Linked DNA regions of Homo sapiens: all the other regions are linked to region 5. The links are contacts of gene promoters, found by promoter capture Hi-C in blood cells and fetal thymus (Javierre and others, 2016). All regions are on one chromosome and are shown on one strand. Each heading gives the region's core, a stretch centred on a gene start or on the middle of the fragment in contact. The rest is flanking DNA. Distances are from core to core; before and after follow the strand shown.

Evidence for each region. The method cuts DNA at HindIII sites, captures the fragments that hold promoters and counts their contacts. A CHiCAGO score of 5 or more calls a contact.
Region 1: a contact is called between the fragment with the promoter of TMCC2-AS1 here and the fragment with the promoter of MDM4 in region 5, in 1 of 17 cell types (M1 macrophages). The highest score is 8.5, in M1 macrophages.
Region 2: the fragment with the promoter of ATP2B4 here is called in contact with the fragment with the promoter of MDM4 in region 5 in 4 of 17 cell types (naive CD8 T cells, fetal thymus, activated CD4 T cells and 1 more); the score reaches 8.1 in naive CD8 T cells.
Region 3: a contact is called between the fragment with the promoter of LAX1 here and the fragment with the promoter of MDM4 in region 5, in 1 of 17 cell types (naive CD8 T cells). The highest score is 5.4, in naive CD8 T cells.
Region 4: a contact is called between the fragment with the promoter of NUAK2 here and the fragment with the promoter of MDM4 in region 5, in 10 of 17 cell types (naive CD4 T cells, total B cells, activated CD4 T cells and 7 more). The highest score is 9.5, in naive CD4 T cells.

Annotation. Positions count from the first base shown.
Region 1 is chr1:205,235,689-205,239,037 of GRCh38, reverse strand. It overlaps TMCC2-AS1 (TMCC2 antisense RNA 1), which reads left to right and starts at 1,747. Exons shown (of 3, transcript NR_183258.1): 1 at 1,747-1,854; 2 at 2,080-2,533. All of the region lies in intron 1 of TMCC2 (transmembrane and coiled-coil domain family 2), which reads right to left. The HindIII fragment of the contact is 7,142 bases long and covers 1,512-3,349 here.
Region 2 is chr1:203,624,970-203,628,163 of GRCh38, reverse strand. ATP2B4 (ATPase plasma membrane Ca2+ transporting 4) reads right to left here and starts at 1,332. Exons shown (of 21, transcript NM_001684.5): 1 at 945-1,332. RefSeq lists enhancers at 591-1,463, 1,464-2,338. The HindIII fragment of the contact is 13,651 bases long and covers 1-1,671 here.
Region 3 is chr1:203,763,770-203,767,376 of GRCh38, reverse strand. LAX1 (lymphocyte transmembrane adaptor 1) reads right to left here and starts at 2,194. Exons shown (of 5, transcript NM_017773.4): 1 at 1,723-2,194. The coding sequence starts at 1,811. RefSeq lists an enhancer at 1,952-2,311. The HindIII fragment of the contact is 21,277 bases long and covers 1-3,607 here.
Region 4 is chr1:205,319,555-205,323,144 of GRCh38, reverse strand. NUAK2 (NUAK family kinase 2) reads left to right here and starts at 1,400. Exons shown (of 7, transcript NM_030952.3): 1 at 1,400-1,747. The coding sequence starts at 1,517. RefSeq lists a silencer at 1,714-1,893. The HindIII fragment of the contact is 5,000 bases long and covers 1,163-3,590 here.
Region 5 is chr1:204,514,968-204,518,525 of GRCh38, reverse strand. MDM4 (MDM4 regulator of p53) reads right to left here and starts at 2,120. Exons shown (of 11, transcript NM_002393.5): 1 at 2,017-2,120. RefSeq lists enhancers at 1,848-2,127, 2,158-2,237, 2,248-2,377, 1,816-2,726, 1,667-2,866 and 1 more. The HindIII fragment of the contact is 1,369 bases long and covers 1,161-2,529 here.

The sequences.
Region 1 (3,349 bases), core at 498-2,997, 720 kb before region 5:
GGAGGTGCTGGGGAGAGCTACGGTGGCCACCGATGTCTGCCATATTGCCTTGGAGCCTAAAATCCTTGGTCAATTTACTTTTAAAATTTATACAACAGCATTTTGCAAAGTGCGTTCCGATTTATACTGTCATTATAATCTGACACTAGCCTAATCTCAGGAGCTAGGAATGTGAGATGTCACAGCATCAGTGTCTATTTTGCAGATGAAGAAACGGAGGCACAGCATAGCTAAGTGGCTCATCCAAGCCACACAGAGAAACCCCCGACTTCTAATTGAATTTACCTTCATGGGCCCATACACTGATTTCAAGACTTAAGATTTAAAGTAGATAGGGTATTTGCATGTGTCCCAGAATAGTATCAGAGGCAGGCGCCAAACAAAAATGCCTGGGTCAAGGGTTGTTAGGTCCCCTGAACTGCTGTTGTGACCTGCCCATCCCATGTTATGGGACAAGACCCTCAACTATAAAGTCTTTACTTCCCACCTCCCTGAGCTGTCCTGCAGCTGAAGGAAACCTAGGGAAAGTGACCAGGAGACCCCAGGACCTTTGTCCCAGCAGACCGAGGAATCTATTAAAGTCTGAGGCAGGCAGGAGGGAAATAACAAAAAGGAAGTCAAAGAACAAGGTGCAGAGAGAGGAGATTACTCCAAATGAAGGGGTTTTTCCTCACTGATAAGGTGCGAGGCGGGAACAGCAAAGTGACGCAAGGGCTGGGCCGCTTCTGCATGTGGGTGTCAGGGAGGAGATGGTTAAGGAGTTTTGACATAACACAGTAAGTGTTTTAAAAAAAAAAAACTCAGCACATACACATAACCAGCTACAAGTTTCAGAAGTGAGGAAAACCATGGTGACTAGCTTAAGGGAACTTAGCCGCCAACGCAGCAGAAAGCACCACCTGCTCTGACTAACAGGTTCCAGCTCCTAAAATGTCACTTGCTTTTCCACATTGACTTTTGCTTTTCCCTGGCTGCCAGAAACCATTTTGGTGGCCAAATGAAGCCATGCATTAGAGAGCTGAGATGCTTCAGAGTTAGAGGTGGCAAACAAACAGGGCTTTCATGATCTGTAAGACCGAAGCAAGAAGTGCCGTCCCCAGAACTGGCCATAAGGTAGTCAGAAAGGAGAGCCTCCCAGGGTGAGGTGCCCCGGGGAAGGAAGTGAGGGGAGTTGGCTGTCCCTCCCCTGGAACTATCTGAAAGGGCAGGAAGAGCCCCATCTCCTTGGGTGGCACTGTCCTTTCAGGAAAAAAGGGAGGACTAGATGGCTTCTGAAAGATCCTTCCTGAGAAGGCTGTGGTTTCTGAACAGTTGGGCTTCATCCGTCTTTCTCCCTGGGTGTGGGTCCCCCAAAGGGGAAGTTTGCTCCAAAATCTGCAAACACAGCTGCATGAATACAAAACTAAAATGCCTTGGGGTACAGTGTCATTGGCACCATCTGGTTAAAAATGACCAAAAGTGGTTTCTAATTTTTACAGGTACGTGTGTTCTCAACAAATCCCAGGAAAGCTTAAAGTCACACTAATCTATAGCTAATTATCCCACCTGGCAGCTGACTGCATAGCCCTTCCTCCTACCTGGGTTTGAAACTCCTTCCGCCCTACCAACAGTTTGGCTGTGAGGGTTCAGTGGGGTGACTGGGTCACCCTGAGCCTTTGCCAGCCTAGGTCGCCAACATTCCTCTATTTATAGGGTCTCTATGGAAACAGGGCCAGCATTAGAGAACTAATCACTGTAAAAACCCACAGAGTTCTACTCTTAGGATCCAAAGTGGATTGAAGAAGTCTCCAATTGCCCTTAAGAAGCTCTGGGTGGGGAGCCTGAGTGGGAGCAGGAGAGGAACCATTACCCCAGGTTTGGCGCTGATGATCACAGTGGTGTACAGTAGGCAGCTGCAACTGTTCAGGCCCACTTGGAGTTTCTACTGGAAACCCAGTGATGAAAGATTTTTGGAATCATTTATTTATTCCCCAGCCTCACAGATGAAATTTTAAAAAAAAAACTCAACTCATGGGCACACGGGCAAAAAATTCCCCCATTCTCAATTTTATTTTGATTCCTCTTTCCTTTATTGCTTAGAGAATTCAGCCTGGAGCCAAAGCAAGTGGGAAAAGGTCACCTCATCCACCATGTCTTTAGGCAGAACTGATTCAGCACACACCAACATAGAAGACTTTTATTAAAGTTCCCAGCATGGCGTGCCCTCTCTCTGCCTCTTTGCATCCTACCCATCCTTCACCACCTCGCCACTCCATAAAGCCCTCTCTGATCACACCAGTCTGCAGCGATCTCGCCCTGCTCTGAACACATAAGCGCTCATTATCTGCACCACTCATTTTGCAATTAATCGTGTACTGCCTTGTGACATCGCTTCTAGTGCTTTGTCTGACTGTTATCCAACTTCTCACCTGCTGACGGATGGAACCCTTGATGACAATATGAGTGACTGGACAGCAGGAGCTACAGCTCCTACATCTCTGTGTCCCTAACATTACCTGGCAGAGGCCTCAACACCAACATGGAAGACAGCTAGGTAAATTATTTGTTCATTTATTTTCTGAGCAGCCACTATCCAAGTCTCTACAAATCCATCTTACAAAGGTGATTTTAATCCTTAGATGACTACCTTTTCCAAAGACATAACCTTTCACAAAGATTTCAAATGCTCCAACAGCCTTTTCTTGTGTCTAACTCAGATTTCTCCTGCTGCAGTTTAAACCCTCTTCTCACTCTATTATCTTAGTAACCGCCAAGATTGAGTTGGCTTGGAAGGAGATGAACACAGACCAAGGAGCCAGAATGTATGTGATGTCTTCACAAATGGCTTAGGGAGGGCTTGGGAGGGGGCTCATGTCCTTACAGCCAGATTTGTTTTCCCTGGTGGACATCACTCAGTTAACCTGGCTGGAATAAGGAAGCCTTTAGTCATTTGGTTTAAAAATAACTGTTCTTTTTTTTTTTTTTTTTTTGAGACAGAGTCCTGCTGTGTCGCCTAGGCTGGAGTGTAATGGCGTGATCTCCGTTCACTGCAACCTTTGCCTGCCGGGTTCAAGCAAATCTCCTGCCTCAGCCTCCCGAGCAGCTAGGACTATACGGGCACACCACCATGCCTGGCTAATTTTTTGTATTTTTAGTAGAGACGGGGTTTCACCATGCTGGCCAGGCTGGTCTCGAACTCCTGACCTCGTGACCCCCCTGCCTCGGCCTCCCAAAGTGCTGGGATTACAGGCGTGAGCCACCGCGCCCAGCCAAATAACTGTTTTTCTAGCACAGTCACAAAACATACCTGTTATCCCCCAACAGCTTTGTTCTAACTTCTTACACGAAGAGAGACTTAAGTGTTTGGCTG
Region 2 (3,194 bases), core at 83-2,582, 890 kb after region 5:
CAGCAAGCCAAGGCAGTGGCCCGAGACGCTCAGGGATCCTTCCACAGATGCCTGTGGCCCACCCCATCTGCCAAACACTCACCAGCCCCACAGTGTCCAGCCTCGACATCGGAAACTTTTCAATTCACCCTTCTCCTTCCTCCCCTTTGGGACCAGAGATGTGTGGGGCGGTGCCCTCGGAGACACTCATACAGTTGGTTCTGGACGCTCACACACACTCAAACAACAGCGGTACGAGGTAACTCCCAGCTTTTTCCACAGCTAATTATACATGTGAAAGTCTGAGGATGTTTTGCAAGCAGCACAGAGAAACTGCTGAGGTTTCTCTGCAAAGCTAAAGAAATTTAATTCGTGCACTCTCCTTCCCCACTCCTGCCAACTTCTCCCAGCCCACCTCCACCCCATGGCCCCAAAGTGCCCCTCTCCTAGTTCCCGCTGCAGCCCCTCTTTCTGCTGAAGATTTCTTTGGTTCCTTTTTTTTTTTTTTTTCCATCTCTCTTTTGGGCTTTCGAGAAAGGGAACAGACACGGAAAATATTTTTGCAACAGTTTTCCATCCTGCGTCTCATTCCCAAGCCAAGGGGGGAAGGGGAGGGCAGGAACGGAATGGGTTGAGGGAGGGGAGATAAATATTTTTTCCAAGAGCTCAATTTTGGTGTCAAAAAGAGAACCCTCCATTACCCTACCCCATAGCCCAGGAATGACAAGAACTAGGAAAAGAGAGATAAATCACTTGTTCGACTATATGGTTTCTCAGAACTGATAATAGGTAAAACAGTATTTGACAAATCTGTGCACACACACATATTTTAAAAAAAATCCTCCAAACCCAGTCGCATGAAATATTCTAGAAAGAGGAAAATCGGGGAGTTTTAGAAGCCATTGAGAGAAAAGAAAGAAACAAAGTTTGCAAATCACAAGTCAATTCATTCTCTGCAAGCCTACCTCTCTTTCTAGCAAAGATCCAGGTTTCTTCAGGCGGGACTCTCCCTCCGGGTTTCCATGGATGAGGGTAGGGTGGGGTGACCACCCACCAGTCTCCCCAGTGTGGCAACCAAGCTAGAGACGCTGGCTTTGCTCTCTTGCCTTTCTGGCTAAGGCCGGGGAGTGGGCTGGGTCTCCTCCCCCTGCCCCTCCAATGGGAAGGACCTCTCAGGTTCCTGAAAGAAAAAGGGTGCAGGAGAGCTGGGCGGGTGTCTCTGATCTTGCTCTCTTCGGAGGGATGGTGCCCCACGAAGTTCGTGCCCCCCCTCCCAGCCCCCAGCTTTGGACGATCTCAACAGCAGAGCTTTCTTAAGAAAATGCTTGTCATGGCAACAGCTCTAGCTAACTCGGGCCAGACTCTTGCTCACCAGCTCTCCCCAAGCAGTGCGGGAAGAGAGAGGGGAGGAGCAGGAGCTGGAACAGAGGTGGGACTTGGCGCGAGGCCAAACCATTACTCTACTGTTAAGGTGGCCCGATTCTTGCGGTTACTTCCTGGTTCGTCTTAAGGGGGAATGGGAAAAGAAAGGGAAGCAATCCTCTCCCCTGTCGGCTTTCTTCCCCGCCCTTGCTCTCACTTGTTGAATAGAAAGCTGAGTAGGGGTGGAGGAGGGGTGAGGGTGGAGGTGGGGAGTGGATGTGGGTGGCGGTATTCAACGGTTGCTGGGCGGAGGGGAAAAAAAAGGAAGCTTGGGCAGGCGGCTGGCTTCCTGCAGCTCCTACGGGCCTCTCAACCCCTTACTCACTTAGATCCAGGACCCAGAAACCCGAGGTGTCTGTGGACACTTGTATGTCCCCTCCTACCTTCCTGCTCCTGTCTGAATAGGGGGTTCCTTGGAGAAGGAGAATAAATTGTTTTGTAAACACACACACACACACACACACACACACACACACACACACACACACACCCGTCCTCCCCTACACCTTATATACAGGTCACATTTTGTTCCCTCTTGTCCCTGTACCCACCAGAGGTATACTGACAGTGCATGAAAATAGCTGCTTACTTTTGAGTCCTGCTATGCGTGGGCTATGACACCAAAAGCTTTGTCTATATGGTATCGTTTCTAGTCCTCATTTAATCTTGAAAGGTACTTATTATTAACCTCATTTCCTAGTTGAGGGAATTGAAGATTGAGTGTCTGGCCCAAGGTTATACATCCGGCTAATGACAGAGCCAACGATTCAAGACCAAGTCAGACAGACTCCAAAGCCCGAGTACTTTCCTGTACTTTGTATCATACTCCGGCACATATTTCCGTTTTAATTTGCACACACTCAGACATCCATGCACACTTATACACAGCCTGTAAACAGTTAATCACACCCCCATACCCACACACCCACTAGCATTGTGCAACAGTGCCACCCATAGATTTTGCATAGAACTTTATGGCTTTCAAGCACAAACATGCACCATCAGCTGGTTCACACAACATATCTTCATTGACTGACAGATTCCCACACCTACCTCAGCAAACACACTCATGTTTATATGCTTATGGAAGGCACATTGACATATGTCTCACAGGTTATAGCTATGAGCTATGCTGTGAAGAAGGTGACTGGCCACTACTTCCCAACCTTTTAAACAGAGGGTTGGGAAAAGGCCTCTTTGATCCTATCATTCTAACCCAACAGCTCACACCACCCCCTGTCCTTCTTTGCTGTCATCTCTGCCCCCAAGAAGCAGAGCCACATGTGCATGGAGAAACAGGGTTGTGAAACGGGGTCCAGTTTCCCCCGTGTCCAACTAGCACCCTTCCCAATGTTCTCTCATTTGGGTCCTCTTTTTCCTCTTCATTTTCTTACCCTGCTATTTCTTTTTTCTTTATGGTTTTTTTTTTTTTTTTTGAGACGGAGTCTTGCTCTGTTGCCCAGGCTGGAGTGCAGTGGCGTGATCTCGGCTCACTGCAAGCTCCGCCTCCGGGGTTCACGCCATTCTCCTGCCTCAGCCTCCCGAGTAGCTGGGACTACAGGCCCCTGCCACCACGCCCGGCTAATTTTGTTTTTGTATTTTTAGTAGAGACGGGGTTTCACCATGTTAGCCAGAATGGTCTCGATCTCCTGACCTCATGATCTGCCCGCCTCGGCCTCCCAAAGTGCTGGGATTACAGGCGTGAGCCCCCGCACCCGGCCAGTAATGTTTTTAGACTGGTTGGGCTGGGCTCAGAACTCAGAGTTCATCAATGTGAGGCTGGAGATTGCCTG
Region 3 (3,607 bases), core at 945-3,444, 750 kb after region 5:
TAGATTGCAACCTTGCACTCCAGCCTGGGCAACAAGAGTGAAACTTTGTCTCAAAAAAAAAAAAAAAAAAAAAGAAGTGGAGAGTAGAATGGTGGTTACCAGGGAGGGGTTGCAGAGATGTTGGTCAAAGGGTACAAAATATCAGTTAGAGAGAAAGAAAAATTCAAGGGATCTGTTGTATAACATGATGCCTATAGTTAATAAAAATGTGTTGATGGTCCAGACCCGGTGGCTCATGCCTGTAATCCCAGCACTTTGGGAGACAGAGGTGGGCGGATCACCTAAGGTAGGGAGTTCGAGACCAGCCTGACCAACATGAAGAAACCCCATCTCTACTAAAAATACAAAAAAAAGTTAGCCGCGGGTGGTGGCACATGCCTGCAATCCCAGCTACTCAGGAGGCTGAAGCAGGAGAATAGCTTGAACCTGGGAGGTGGAGGCTGCAGTGAGCCGAGATCACGCCACTGCACTCCAGCCTGGGCGACAGAGCGAGACTCTGTCTAAAAAAATAAAAATAAAAAAAACAAACAAAACAAAACAAAAAAAGTGTTGATGACTATAGTTAATAAAAATGTGTCATATTCTTGAAAATTGCTGAGAAATTTTAAGTATTCTCACCACAAAAGAAAATTGTGAAGTAATGTGTATCTTAATTAGTTTAATGTAGCTATTGTACAATGTATACATATTTCAAAACAACAGGCTATCATGATAAATATATATAATTTTGATTTGCCAATTAGAAATAAATAAAAATAAATGAAGAAATAGTTTTGGAGAGATGCTTCAGGCTTCTGATTCATTGCTCATTGATGCTCATATCTACCAGCAAGTGACATGTGTTTGCCATGATAATAACATTTATTTCCCCAAACGACTGCAATTTTATTTTATTTTTTGAGACAGAGTTTCGCTTTTGTTGCCCAGGCTGGAGTACAATGACATGACACTGCAACCTCTGTTTCCCGGGTTCAAGTGATTCTCCTGCCTCAGCCTCCTGAGTAGCTGGGACTACAGGAGCATGCTACCACTCCCGGCTAATTTTTGTATTTTTAGTAGAAACGGGGTTTCACCATGTTGGCCAGGCTGGTCTTGGCCAGGCTGGTTCAAGAGTGGGGGTGATCCGCCCCACTCGGCCTCCCAAAGTGCTGGGGTTACAGGTGTGAGCCACCGCGCCCAGTCAGCTGCCAATGTTTTTAAAGTTTCAACTGTGGATGGATTTTTAATTTTGTTTGTATGAGATTGAAAGTAGTAGCAGTAATTCATACCCATGATTAGTTCTGTAAGATTTTACGTCCTAAGGACGTATCTTTATTACATCTATCACTACATTTTTTATTCATGACAAGTTTTTGGATCTCAAAACACATCCTTGGAAAACTCAGCCTTTTGTTTCTGTCATGGTGACACCTAGGAAAGACTGATGATAGGGTTCAGGGCCTCCGAGAGGTGAGAAATCCAACCAGTCTAAGCAACTAGCTTTAAGGGCCAGTGTTATCACAGTTTTTCCTCTACCACAATATTTTCTTTCTTTCCTCAATACCTTCCTTTCCCCCTAGCACCCCTGAGCAAATGCCTCCAAGCCTAGAGTTTGGTGGTTTAGTAGACCGAGCCTGGGTGTTGAGAGGTGGCAGCACTGCTGTGTAAGAAGCTCCTAAGGGTGGACTAGGACCTTCTGCCTAAATCAGGGCAGGGTGGAGCTCACCACCCTGAGTCACTCACCTGTCCAGGCTGCGGGGAGTCACATGCAGAGTGCTGGACTCCAAGGTCCTCCCTCTGATTGTCGAAAGGGTTGGAGTGACACCATCCATTGTATCAGGAACCTTTGAGATGCTCTCTGGCTTCAGCTTCTAAGTTTCTCTTAATCATAATCAGTTAGCCAGCATGTCTACCACTTCTCCCCACCCCCGCAACAAACTCCCTATCTCGTGTCTACCTCTGAAACGTCAGGCCAAGTTGACCCAACATACAAAAGCAACAGGTTTGGTTCTACCTGGACGTGGCTAATGCCCACTGCAGGAAGTGCGATCTCATCCGGACATGGTGCTTCCAAGTGAGGTGGCTCAGGGAGAATCTGTGGCCTCTGCCTTCACGTTTCTGGTGGAAACGTGAGGGGCACAGAGGGGGAAACTGCCAAGAGGCTCAAGAGAGGCTCCGTGAGAAGCTCGTCTTCCTTCAACACCCAAAGCAGAGTGAAAAGAGCAAACCACTTTGCCAGAATGGAAACAGAGAGTCAGTCACCGGAAACGACACCACCAATGTGCTAATGAAGCACAGGGCACAGGAAACTCTGCTCAGCTCTTAATCTGCTAGAAGAAAACATATCTTCAACCCACCGTTCCTGGGTTTGCCAGGTGCTCTGTGGTCTGTGATGAGTGTGATTAAAAATGGGGCAGGGTAGTAGAGAACTTGTGATTCTTCACCCTGAGTTTCTGAGACACTTAGAGTTGTATAAGTCTTCAGATTTACAGTATTTTCTAAGCAAGTCTAAGGAGCACTGGAGGTTGCCTTTTAGAGTGAAATGCAGATCTCCGGGACCCTCTTCTGATTCAGTGGGTGGAGGCTGCAGAGGGGGCAGGCTTTGGCTATCGATGCTTTCCAGGTGAATTTGATGGAGCTTTCAGGTGATTTTGATGGAGCTCATCTGTGTTTCATGTTTTGGGAACCTCTGCTCTGGGTACTACCTTAAGAATAGAAGTTATGCTGGGTTAGCAGGACCCCTGCTCCCCCAAGGCAACCTTCCACAGCTCCTGGCTGCTGGTGATCTCCTGTTCTCAGGGCTCTTCTGAAGATCAGTCACAGTCTTACTTGTCACACACCTGTCTCAGAAGCTGAACAAGTTCATCCTTAAGAGCTACCCAAAGTGTTTGAAGATTGTTCAAAATTTATTGCTAACTCCCCTCCCTTCTTGAGCCTACTAATCTCCGGAAACACTCTTTGCATCTTGGGAGAGTCCAAAGAGAAGGGGCCACTAAGACTGTTGTAAGGATGTGAAGAACCTCTCTGATTGCACTTTCCACAAGGAAATGGATTCCCAGATGAATGGAAGGGCAGACCAGCAGTACCCTCCTAGAACCATGCCTCCCTCCCATCTCTTCCCAGTGGACATTGAGGTCCTCAGCTTTCCTGAGGTGGCAGCCCCTGGCCTGTCTGCATCCAGACTCTCACAGAGTCCCCAGGGGCTGCAGACTGGCCATGGCTGGCTTTCCAGGGAGCTTTATCATTCCAGGTCCTGGGCCCCTTCCCTCCCAGGAGCTTCACCTGGTAGGAAGCAGAAATGGCTCAGAGGCAGCTGGTGCTGGAGCTGGAACCTGGGTCTCTGCCCACTTCTCCTTTGGATCAGGTCTGAGTAGGAACTAGGACTACTCACAAGATCCATCATGCTGGTGGCAAGGACTGGGGTCCTGGGCCATTGGAACCAATAAGGGACTGTGAGAATCAGGACCTCGGAAGGCAGTACACGGAAAGGGCACATGGAACCAAACCTCAGAACCATGACTGCTAATTAAAAAAAAAAAATTTTTTTTTTTTTTAAAGAACTTTTCCATTGCATGTGATCATTTCAGGGCCTCACTTATCTTATCTACCCAATCTGCTGCAGTTAGAC
Region 4 (3,590 bases), core at 151-2,650, 810 kb before region 5:
AGAGTGGAGATTCTGGACCTAGCAACTCCAGGCCTCAAAAACTAAGTCAAGCTGGGCGCAGTGGCTCACGCTTGTAATCCCAGTACTTTGGGAGGCCGAGGCGGGCGGATCACGAGGTCAGGAGATCAAGACCATGGTGAAACCCTGTCTCTACTAAAAATACAAAAAATTAGCCGGGCGTGGTGGCGGGCGCCTGTAGTCCCAGCTACTCGGAGAGGCTGAGGCAGGAGAATGGCGTGAACCCGGGAGGCGGAGCTTGCAGTGAGCAGAGATCGCACCACTGCACTCCAGCCTGGGCGACAGAGGGAGACTCCGTCTCAAGTCAAACCTCATAACCTACCACCAGTGCTCCTGGCACCAAAATCACAAGAAAACCTTGGGTGGAGCAACCATTTTCAGACTTAGGGACACAGGTTAGATAGTCGGCATGTAAAAATGTTAAATAAATATGTATCCCTTCGGGTTCTCTCCACCTCCAGCCGACACATCCTAAATAAATTCCACTAAGTGGTTGAGGGAATCTACTAAACCTTAGAAGCCCTCTTTTTTTTTGAAACGGAGCCTCACTTTGTTGCCCAGGCTGGAGTGCAGTGGCGCCATCTTGATTCACTGAAACCTCTGCCTCCTGGGTTCAAGCGATTCTTCTGCCTCAGCCTCCAGAGTAGCTGGGATTACAAGCGCGCACCACCACGCCCGGCTAATTTTGTATCTTTAGTGGAGATGGGATTTCGTCATGTTGGCTAGGTTGGTCTTGAACTCCTGGACCTCAAGCGATTCGCCTAAGAAGCCCTCTTTGAGGAAGAAGGAAGAAGTTTCCAGGGCCATTGGATTCCAATATCCAAGTAAGGTTGATCTAACTGAAGACAAGTGAACTCGAACCATAGGACAGCTCTGCACTAACCCTCCCACTAGGCTGGATTCTGCCTCTGTTCCATCCCAGCTCCCTTTCTCCTTTATGGACTCAATGAAGTGGTCAAGCAATTATAGATTTTGGCTTGGGACAAGCAAATTACTCAGGATGAAGAAATACTTTGGTGACCTTTAGTGCCCTCAGATCGCCCCTTGCCAACTGAGAACAGAGTACAATAAAACAACAGGGCATTAAGCAGGACCAAGCGCCACTCAGAGGCAAGTGCAGCTCCAAGGGCCCTCAGAGTAAGCTTCTGGGCCTCAGGCGGCCTTCGCTGGAATCCCCTAGTCCCCATTCCTGGTGGGCGGGTTCCATTGACACCTTTCCCGGCCACGCCGAGGGGGAGGAGGCGGGGCCTGGAGCCCCGGAGAGCCAATGTGGACGGCCGTGGTCACGCGCCGCCGTCGAGCAGGCCAATGGGCGCCGGGGGGCGTGTCCAGGGCCTCGGGCTCAGGGCGTTTATAACAACTTGGAATGCTGTGCTTTACTGCGCGCTCTGGTACTGCTGTGGCTCCCCGTCCTGGTGCGGGACCTGTGCCCCGCGCTTCAGCCCTCCCCGCACAGCCTACTGATTCCCCTGCCGCCCTTGCTCACCTCCTGCTCGCCATGGAGTCGCTGGTTTTCGCGCGGCGCTCCGGCCCCACTCCCTCGGCCGCAGAGCTAGCCCGGCCGCTGGCGGAAGGGCTGATCAAGTCGCCCAAGCCCCTAATGAAGAAGCAGGCGGTGAAGCGGCACCACCACAAGCACAACCTGCGGCACCGCTACGAGTTCCTGGAGACCCTGGGCAAAGGCACCTACGGGAAGGTGAAGAAGGCGCGGGAGAGCTCGGGGCGCCTGGTGAGTGCGGCTCCCTCTCGCGGCGCGGGGCGGGCTCCGGCTTGGCCGCCGGCAGGGAGCGGAGGAGGGCGGGCGGCGGCTCGCTCGTTGCTCGGCGGAGAGGCCAGCGTGGTCTTTACCGCGCTGAGCTTGCGGGGCTACTGCGGGGTGTCCCTGGCAGATGTGTCAGTCCGTGATTGCAGGGACAGTGGTCGCAAACTTGCGAACCCCAGCCAGCAACACCGTACTGCTGTGATGATTGCCAAATAAAAGGGAGGCTATGGATAGTTGGCGCGGAAAAACGAATCGTGTCGTGTCCTGGGATAAGATGGATGGGACTTAAGTTGAGTTTTGCTGGGAAAAGACTGTTCAATAGAGTGCAATGGAAAGAGGAAGTAGAAGGCACCCCATCTTAATAGGTATTTGGTAAATATGTGTGTGGTTGAATGAATGGATGAGGTGTGGATTTCCCCAACTCCAAGAATCTGGCAACCCAGCACACTGGAGCTCTGGCACGGGGTGGGTTTTGACATTTAGGTCCTTTCCAGCTCTAAAATTTAGTTGAAATTTCATTATGATGAGTTTTTGATTCTGGAAAATGTGAAACCAGGTCCACTGTACCAGAGACACCTTTCGGTTTGGGGGCCTTTTCAAGAACATGCCCTGTTACTTTGGTGCGAGCGTAGGAGTCTAGCAGTCTGTGTGACCTTGGGCAATTTCCTTCATCTCTGTACTTTGTTTCCCCTTTTGCAGAACTGTAGAAAACACAGCCTGCCTCACAAGCTGCTGTGAGGATTGAATAAGATCGAAATATGAACTTATATTGCTCCTAACACATAGAACTTGCGGTGAGATAGCCGGGCGCGGTGGCTCACGCCTGTAATCCCAGCACTGTGGGAGGCCGAGGCGGGCGGATCGTGAGGTCAGGAGATCGAGACCATCCTGGCTAACACAGTGAAACCCCGTCTCTACTAAAAATACAAAAAATTAGCCGGGCGTGGTGGCGGACGCCTGTAGTCCCAGCTACTCGGGAGGCTGAGGCAGGAGAATGGCCTGAACCCAGGAGGCGGAGCTTGCAGTGAGCCGAGATCGTGCCACTGCACTCCAGCCTGGGCAACAGAGCGAGACTCCGTCTCAAAAACAAAACAAAACAAAACAAAACGAAACAAACAAAAAAAGAACTTGCAGTGAGAATTTCTGGAAAGGGCAGCCCAGAAAGGATGGCAAATTTGTCAAAAGTTAGTTAGCAGTGGTTAACTGGTTCTCAAACTTGAGTTTAAAGTACGTAAGGATCACCTGGGATGTTTGTTTAAAATACTTACATTCTCTGGTTCCACACCCAGAGTAATTTATTCTGAAGGTCTAGGATAGGGCCATATAATGTATATTTTAACAAGCCTTTTAGAGCAGGTGGTTTAGGCATTATTATGTTTTGCCAAATCCAGTTGGGTGCTGGTTGTGAGGGGGTGTGTGTGTGTGTGTGTGTGTGTGTGTATGGTTTGCCCTATTGGCTACATCAGCAGTTACTTCCCCAGATTGTGTTTGCTTTTGCAGCCAGTAGCTGGTTTGAAATTCAAGAAGTCATTTCATTGGTGAAGGAGAGTGGATGTTGGAGAAAGGGGTAGATTATGGCCCCATCAATAGGACCGAGTATGTTTTTCCTGCTATCGCCTGGCACAGTCCCCAGTTGCCTGCTGCCAGGTTACAGCTATTGGGCAATCATGTACTTCCTGGCTTGCCTTTTCTTTCTCTTTCTGCAAAGTGTGAGGGCCCGGTGAGGCTCCAGGCTTGAGGCTGTTGGACCCAGGCTTTGTCAGGGGCTTAGCTGGAAAATAGCTGCTGGTGGCTTGTGCTTCGTGCCTCT
Region 5 (3,558 bases), core at 871-3,370:
AAAAGATAAATAATCCAAATCTAGACCTACCTACTAACTGCAAGTTACTAGGGAAAATGGAGAGCAAGCAGTTAATAAGTCAAATCCAGAACGTAGGTGTTCTACAGGACCTGGGACGGCAGGGAAGATTAAAGTGGGAAGATTAAACTGGGAAGATTAAATCTTTAATTAAAGATTAACGATTGTTATAGAATCTTAAAAAACCAACTGCAGCCGGTGGCCTGTGCCTGTAGTCCCAGCTATTCCGGAGGGCTGAGGCAGGAGGATCCCTAGAGTCCAGGAGTTTCAGGCTGTAGTGTGCAATGATCACACCTGTGAATAGCCACTGCACTGCAGCCTGAGCACACAGTGAGACCTCATCTCTTTTTTTGAGACAGGCTCTCGCGCTGTCGCCTAAGCTAGAGTGCAGTAGCTCCATCCCGGCTTGCTGCAGCCTTTACCTCCTGGGATCAAGCAATCCTCCCACCTCAGTCTCTTGGGTAGCTGGGACTGGAAGCTCGCTCTATGACACTGATTTTTTTATTTTTTGCAGAGATGGGGCTCAGTTTGTTGCCTAGGCTGGTGTCGAACTCCGAGACTCAAGCAAACCTGCCCCCTTGGCCTCCCAAAGTGCTGGGATTAAAGGTGTGAGCCACTGGGCCTGGCCGAAATCCCATCTATTAAAAAAAAAATGTATGAGGAGAGAGAAGACTAAATCTAAACTGAGATACAGTAATACTTAACACCAAGAGGTTCCAAGTATCTTTGACAGATACTAGTTCCACGTGCCAACAGCACAGAGCTGCAGCATTTTCTCCGGGTGTTGCTTTTAAACTGTGGTTTTCGGCCGGGCACGGTGGCTCACGCCTGTAATCCCAACACTTTCGGAGGCCGAGGTGGGCGGATCACCTGAGGTCTGGAGTTCGAGAACAGCCTGGCCAACCTGGTGAAACCTCATCTCTAATAAAACACAAAATTAGCCAGGCGTGGTGGCGCACACCTGTAATCCCAGCGACCCGGGAGGCTGAGGCAGAAGAATCACTTGAACCCGTGAGGCAGAAGTTGCAGTGAGCCAAGATCGCGCCACTGCACGCCAGCCTGGGCAAAAAGAGCGAAACTCCACTCAAAAAAAACAAAAACAAAACAAAAACACAACCAAAAAAACCTGTGGTTTTCAAGCTTTAAGGTATACAAAAATCACTGGGAGGTGTGCTCATTAAAATATATTTCTCTGAGCCCCATCTCGATACTGTCTGTAGGTTTCAGTGTGGCCCCAAAACGAACATTTTTTCTTTTTTTTTTTTTGAGACGGAATCTCCCTCTGTAGCCCAAGCTGGAGTGCAGTGGCGCGATCTCGACTCACTGCAACCCCCGCCCACGGATTCAAGTGATTCTCCTGCCTCAGCCTCCCGAGTAGCTAGGATTACAGGCATGCGCCACCACACACATCTAATATTTTTGTATTTTTACTAGAGACGGGGTTTCACCAGGTTGGCCAGGTTGGTCTCGAACTCCTGTCCTCAGGTAGATCCACCCACCTCGGCCTCCTGAAGTGCTGGGATTACAGGCGTGAGCCACCGCGCCAAGCCAAAACAAGCATTTTCAAACAAGCACTCAAGTGCCTCTAAGGTAGACTGTCCGCAGACCTAAAAACTAACTTAAAAACTTAAGACACGTCAATGTCATTCTACCCGGTTCCCTCTCTCCCACCTCCTTTCTCCAAATTGCCTCAACAGTCCTCAAATGTTGTGTCCAGTTAAACTCAATCCAACTACGTCGACTTTAGGTTTGTCACCTGTTGGCCAAAGTTACTTCACGTCACCCCACCTCCACTTTTATCTTCCGCGAGCCCTCATCCCACAACTCTTCCCCTCCCCCCGAGCCCTTCTTCCGCCTGGCGCGGCCTTCCCCACGCCGCCCGACCCACCTCTCAAGCTCCTCCCGCCCGCTACCCGCACAACTGGCGGTACGGCCGCCTGCTCCTCACTCTCCAGCTCCCGCTCCCGGCACCCCGCCGACGAAGGCCAAGAGCCACACCTTACGGCAGCTCCATGAGTCGCTCCCCCGCCGAGCCCGGGTGGGGGGAGGGGTGGCAGTCACAGATCCTAGGGCCTCGGCAGCATTTTGAAATGGCGAGTAATGAAGCCGCAACTTCCGGCCTCCCACACGGCCTCACACGAGGGCTTCCGGTGAGGCCTCCGGAAACCATAGATGGAGCAATGGGAGGACTAGAGAGCTAGAAAGGCTGAGCTCACTACCATAGAGTAGATCCTAGTCCGGGGAGAGAGTCGTGGGGCCCGAACGGTTGAAAGTCGTCAGATTTGAAGAGATAATAAGTGAGGGACTTGCAGGGTCTTGTGATATTTACAGACGTGTATTAGGAGATCAGAAAACAGAGAAGAGGAAGAGCTAAGGTCATAATCACAGGCTGCCTTCAGCTCTTCGGAAAAACTACGCTTCCTCTGCCATTCCCCAGTCCTCACCCTTACTCCCCAAGGGTGGTAGGGAAGGGAAACGGAGCGATGGCGGCACTAGGGTGGCAAGGAAGCTTGAAGCCATGTCAAATAAATAGTTGAAAGCACCAGCCGCTGTGGCTCACGCCTGTAATCCCAGCACTTTGGGAGGCCTAAGGCAGGCGGATCACCTGAGGTCAGGAGTTCGAGACCAGTCTGACCAATATGGTGAAACCCTGTTTCTACTAAAAATACAAAATTAGTCGGGTGTGGTGGCGCATGCCTGTAATCCCAGCTACTCAGGAGAATCGTTTGAACTTGGGAGGCGGAGGTTGCAGTGAGCCGAGATAGCGCCATTCCAGCCTGGGCAACAAGAGCGAAACTCCTCAAAAAAAAAAAAAAAAAAGAAAAAGAAATAGTTGAAGGCTCAAGGGAGTTTTTAACCTGCATATAAACGAGGGAGGCCGGGCGCAGTGGCTCTCCCCTGTAATCCCAGCGCACTTTGGGAGGCCGAGGCGGGCGGATCACCTGAGGTCAGCAGTTCGAGACCATCCTGCCCAACATGGCGAAACCCCCGTTTCTACTAAAAATACAAAAAATTAGCGGGGCATGGTGGCGGTCACCTGTAATCCCAGCTACTTAGGAGGCCGAGGCAGGAGAATCGTTTGAACCCGGGTGGCGGAGGTTGCAGTGAGCCGAGATAGCGCCATTGCACTCCAGCCTGGGCGACAAGAGCGAAACTGCATCTCAAAAAAAAAAAAAAAAAAAAAGAGGGAAAGGGTTGAGCATAGAAATTGGAAGCTGTCTTCAAATAACTGAATAGTATAATATTGGAAATAACGGAGCCTTATTCTCTTCTCCAAAGTGCAGAACTAAAACCAATAGAAATTACAAGGCAGTATTTTTAAGCTCAGAAAATCCTCTAACATTTAGAGTTGTTCTGAAATAAATGAAATTAGGTATTTGGGGGAAGTAATGTCATTTGAAGACAGCCTGCCTGAGAGGTTTGTTGAAAGCTCTTCTATATTAGGAAACATTAAAACTGGCTGTGTAACCCAAGAAAGCTCCATCTCAGTGTTCTTTGCACCTGTCTTTTAGCATTTACCACGTATTTTTTTTTTAGTTA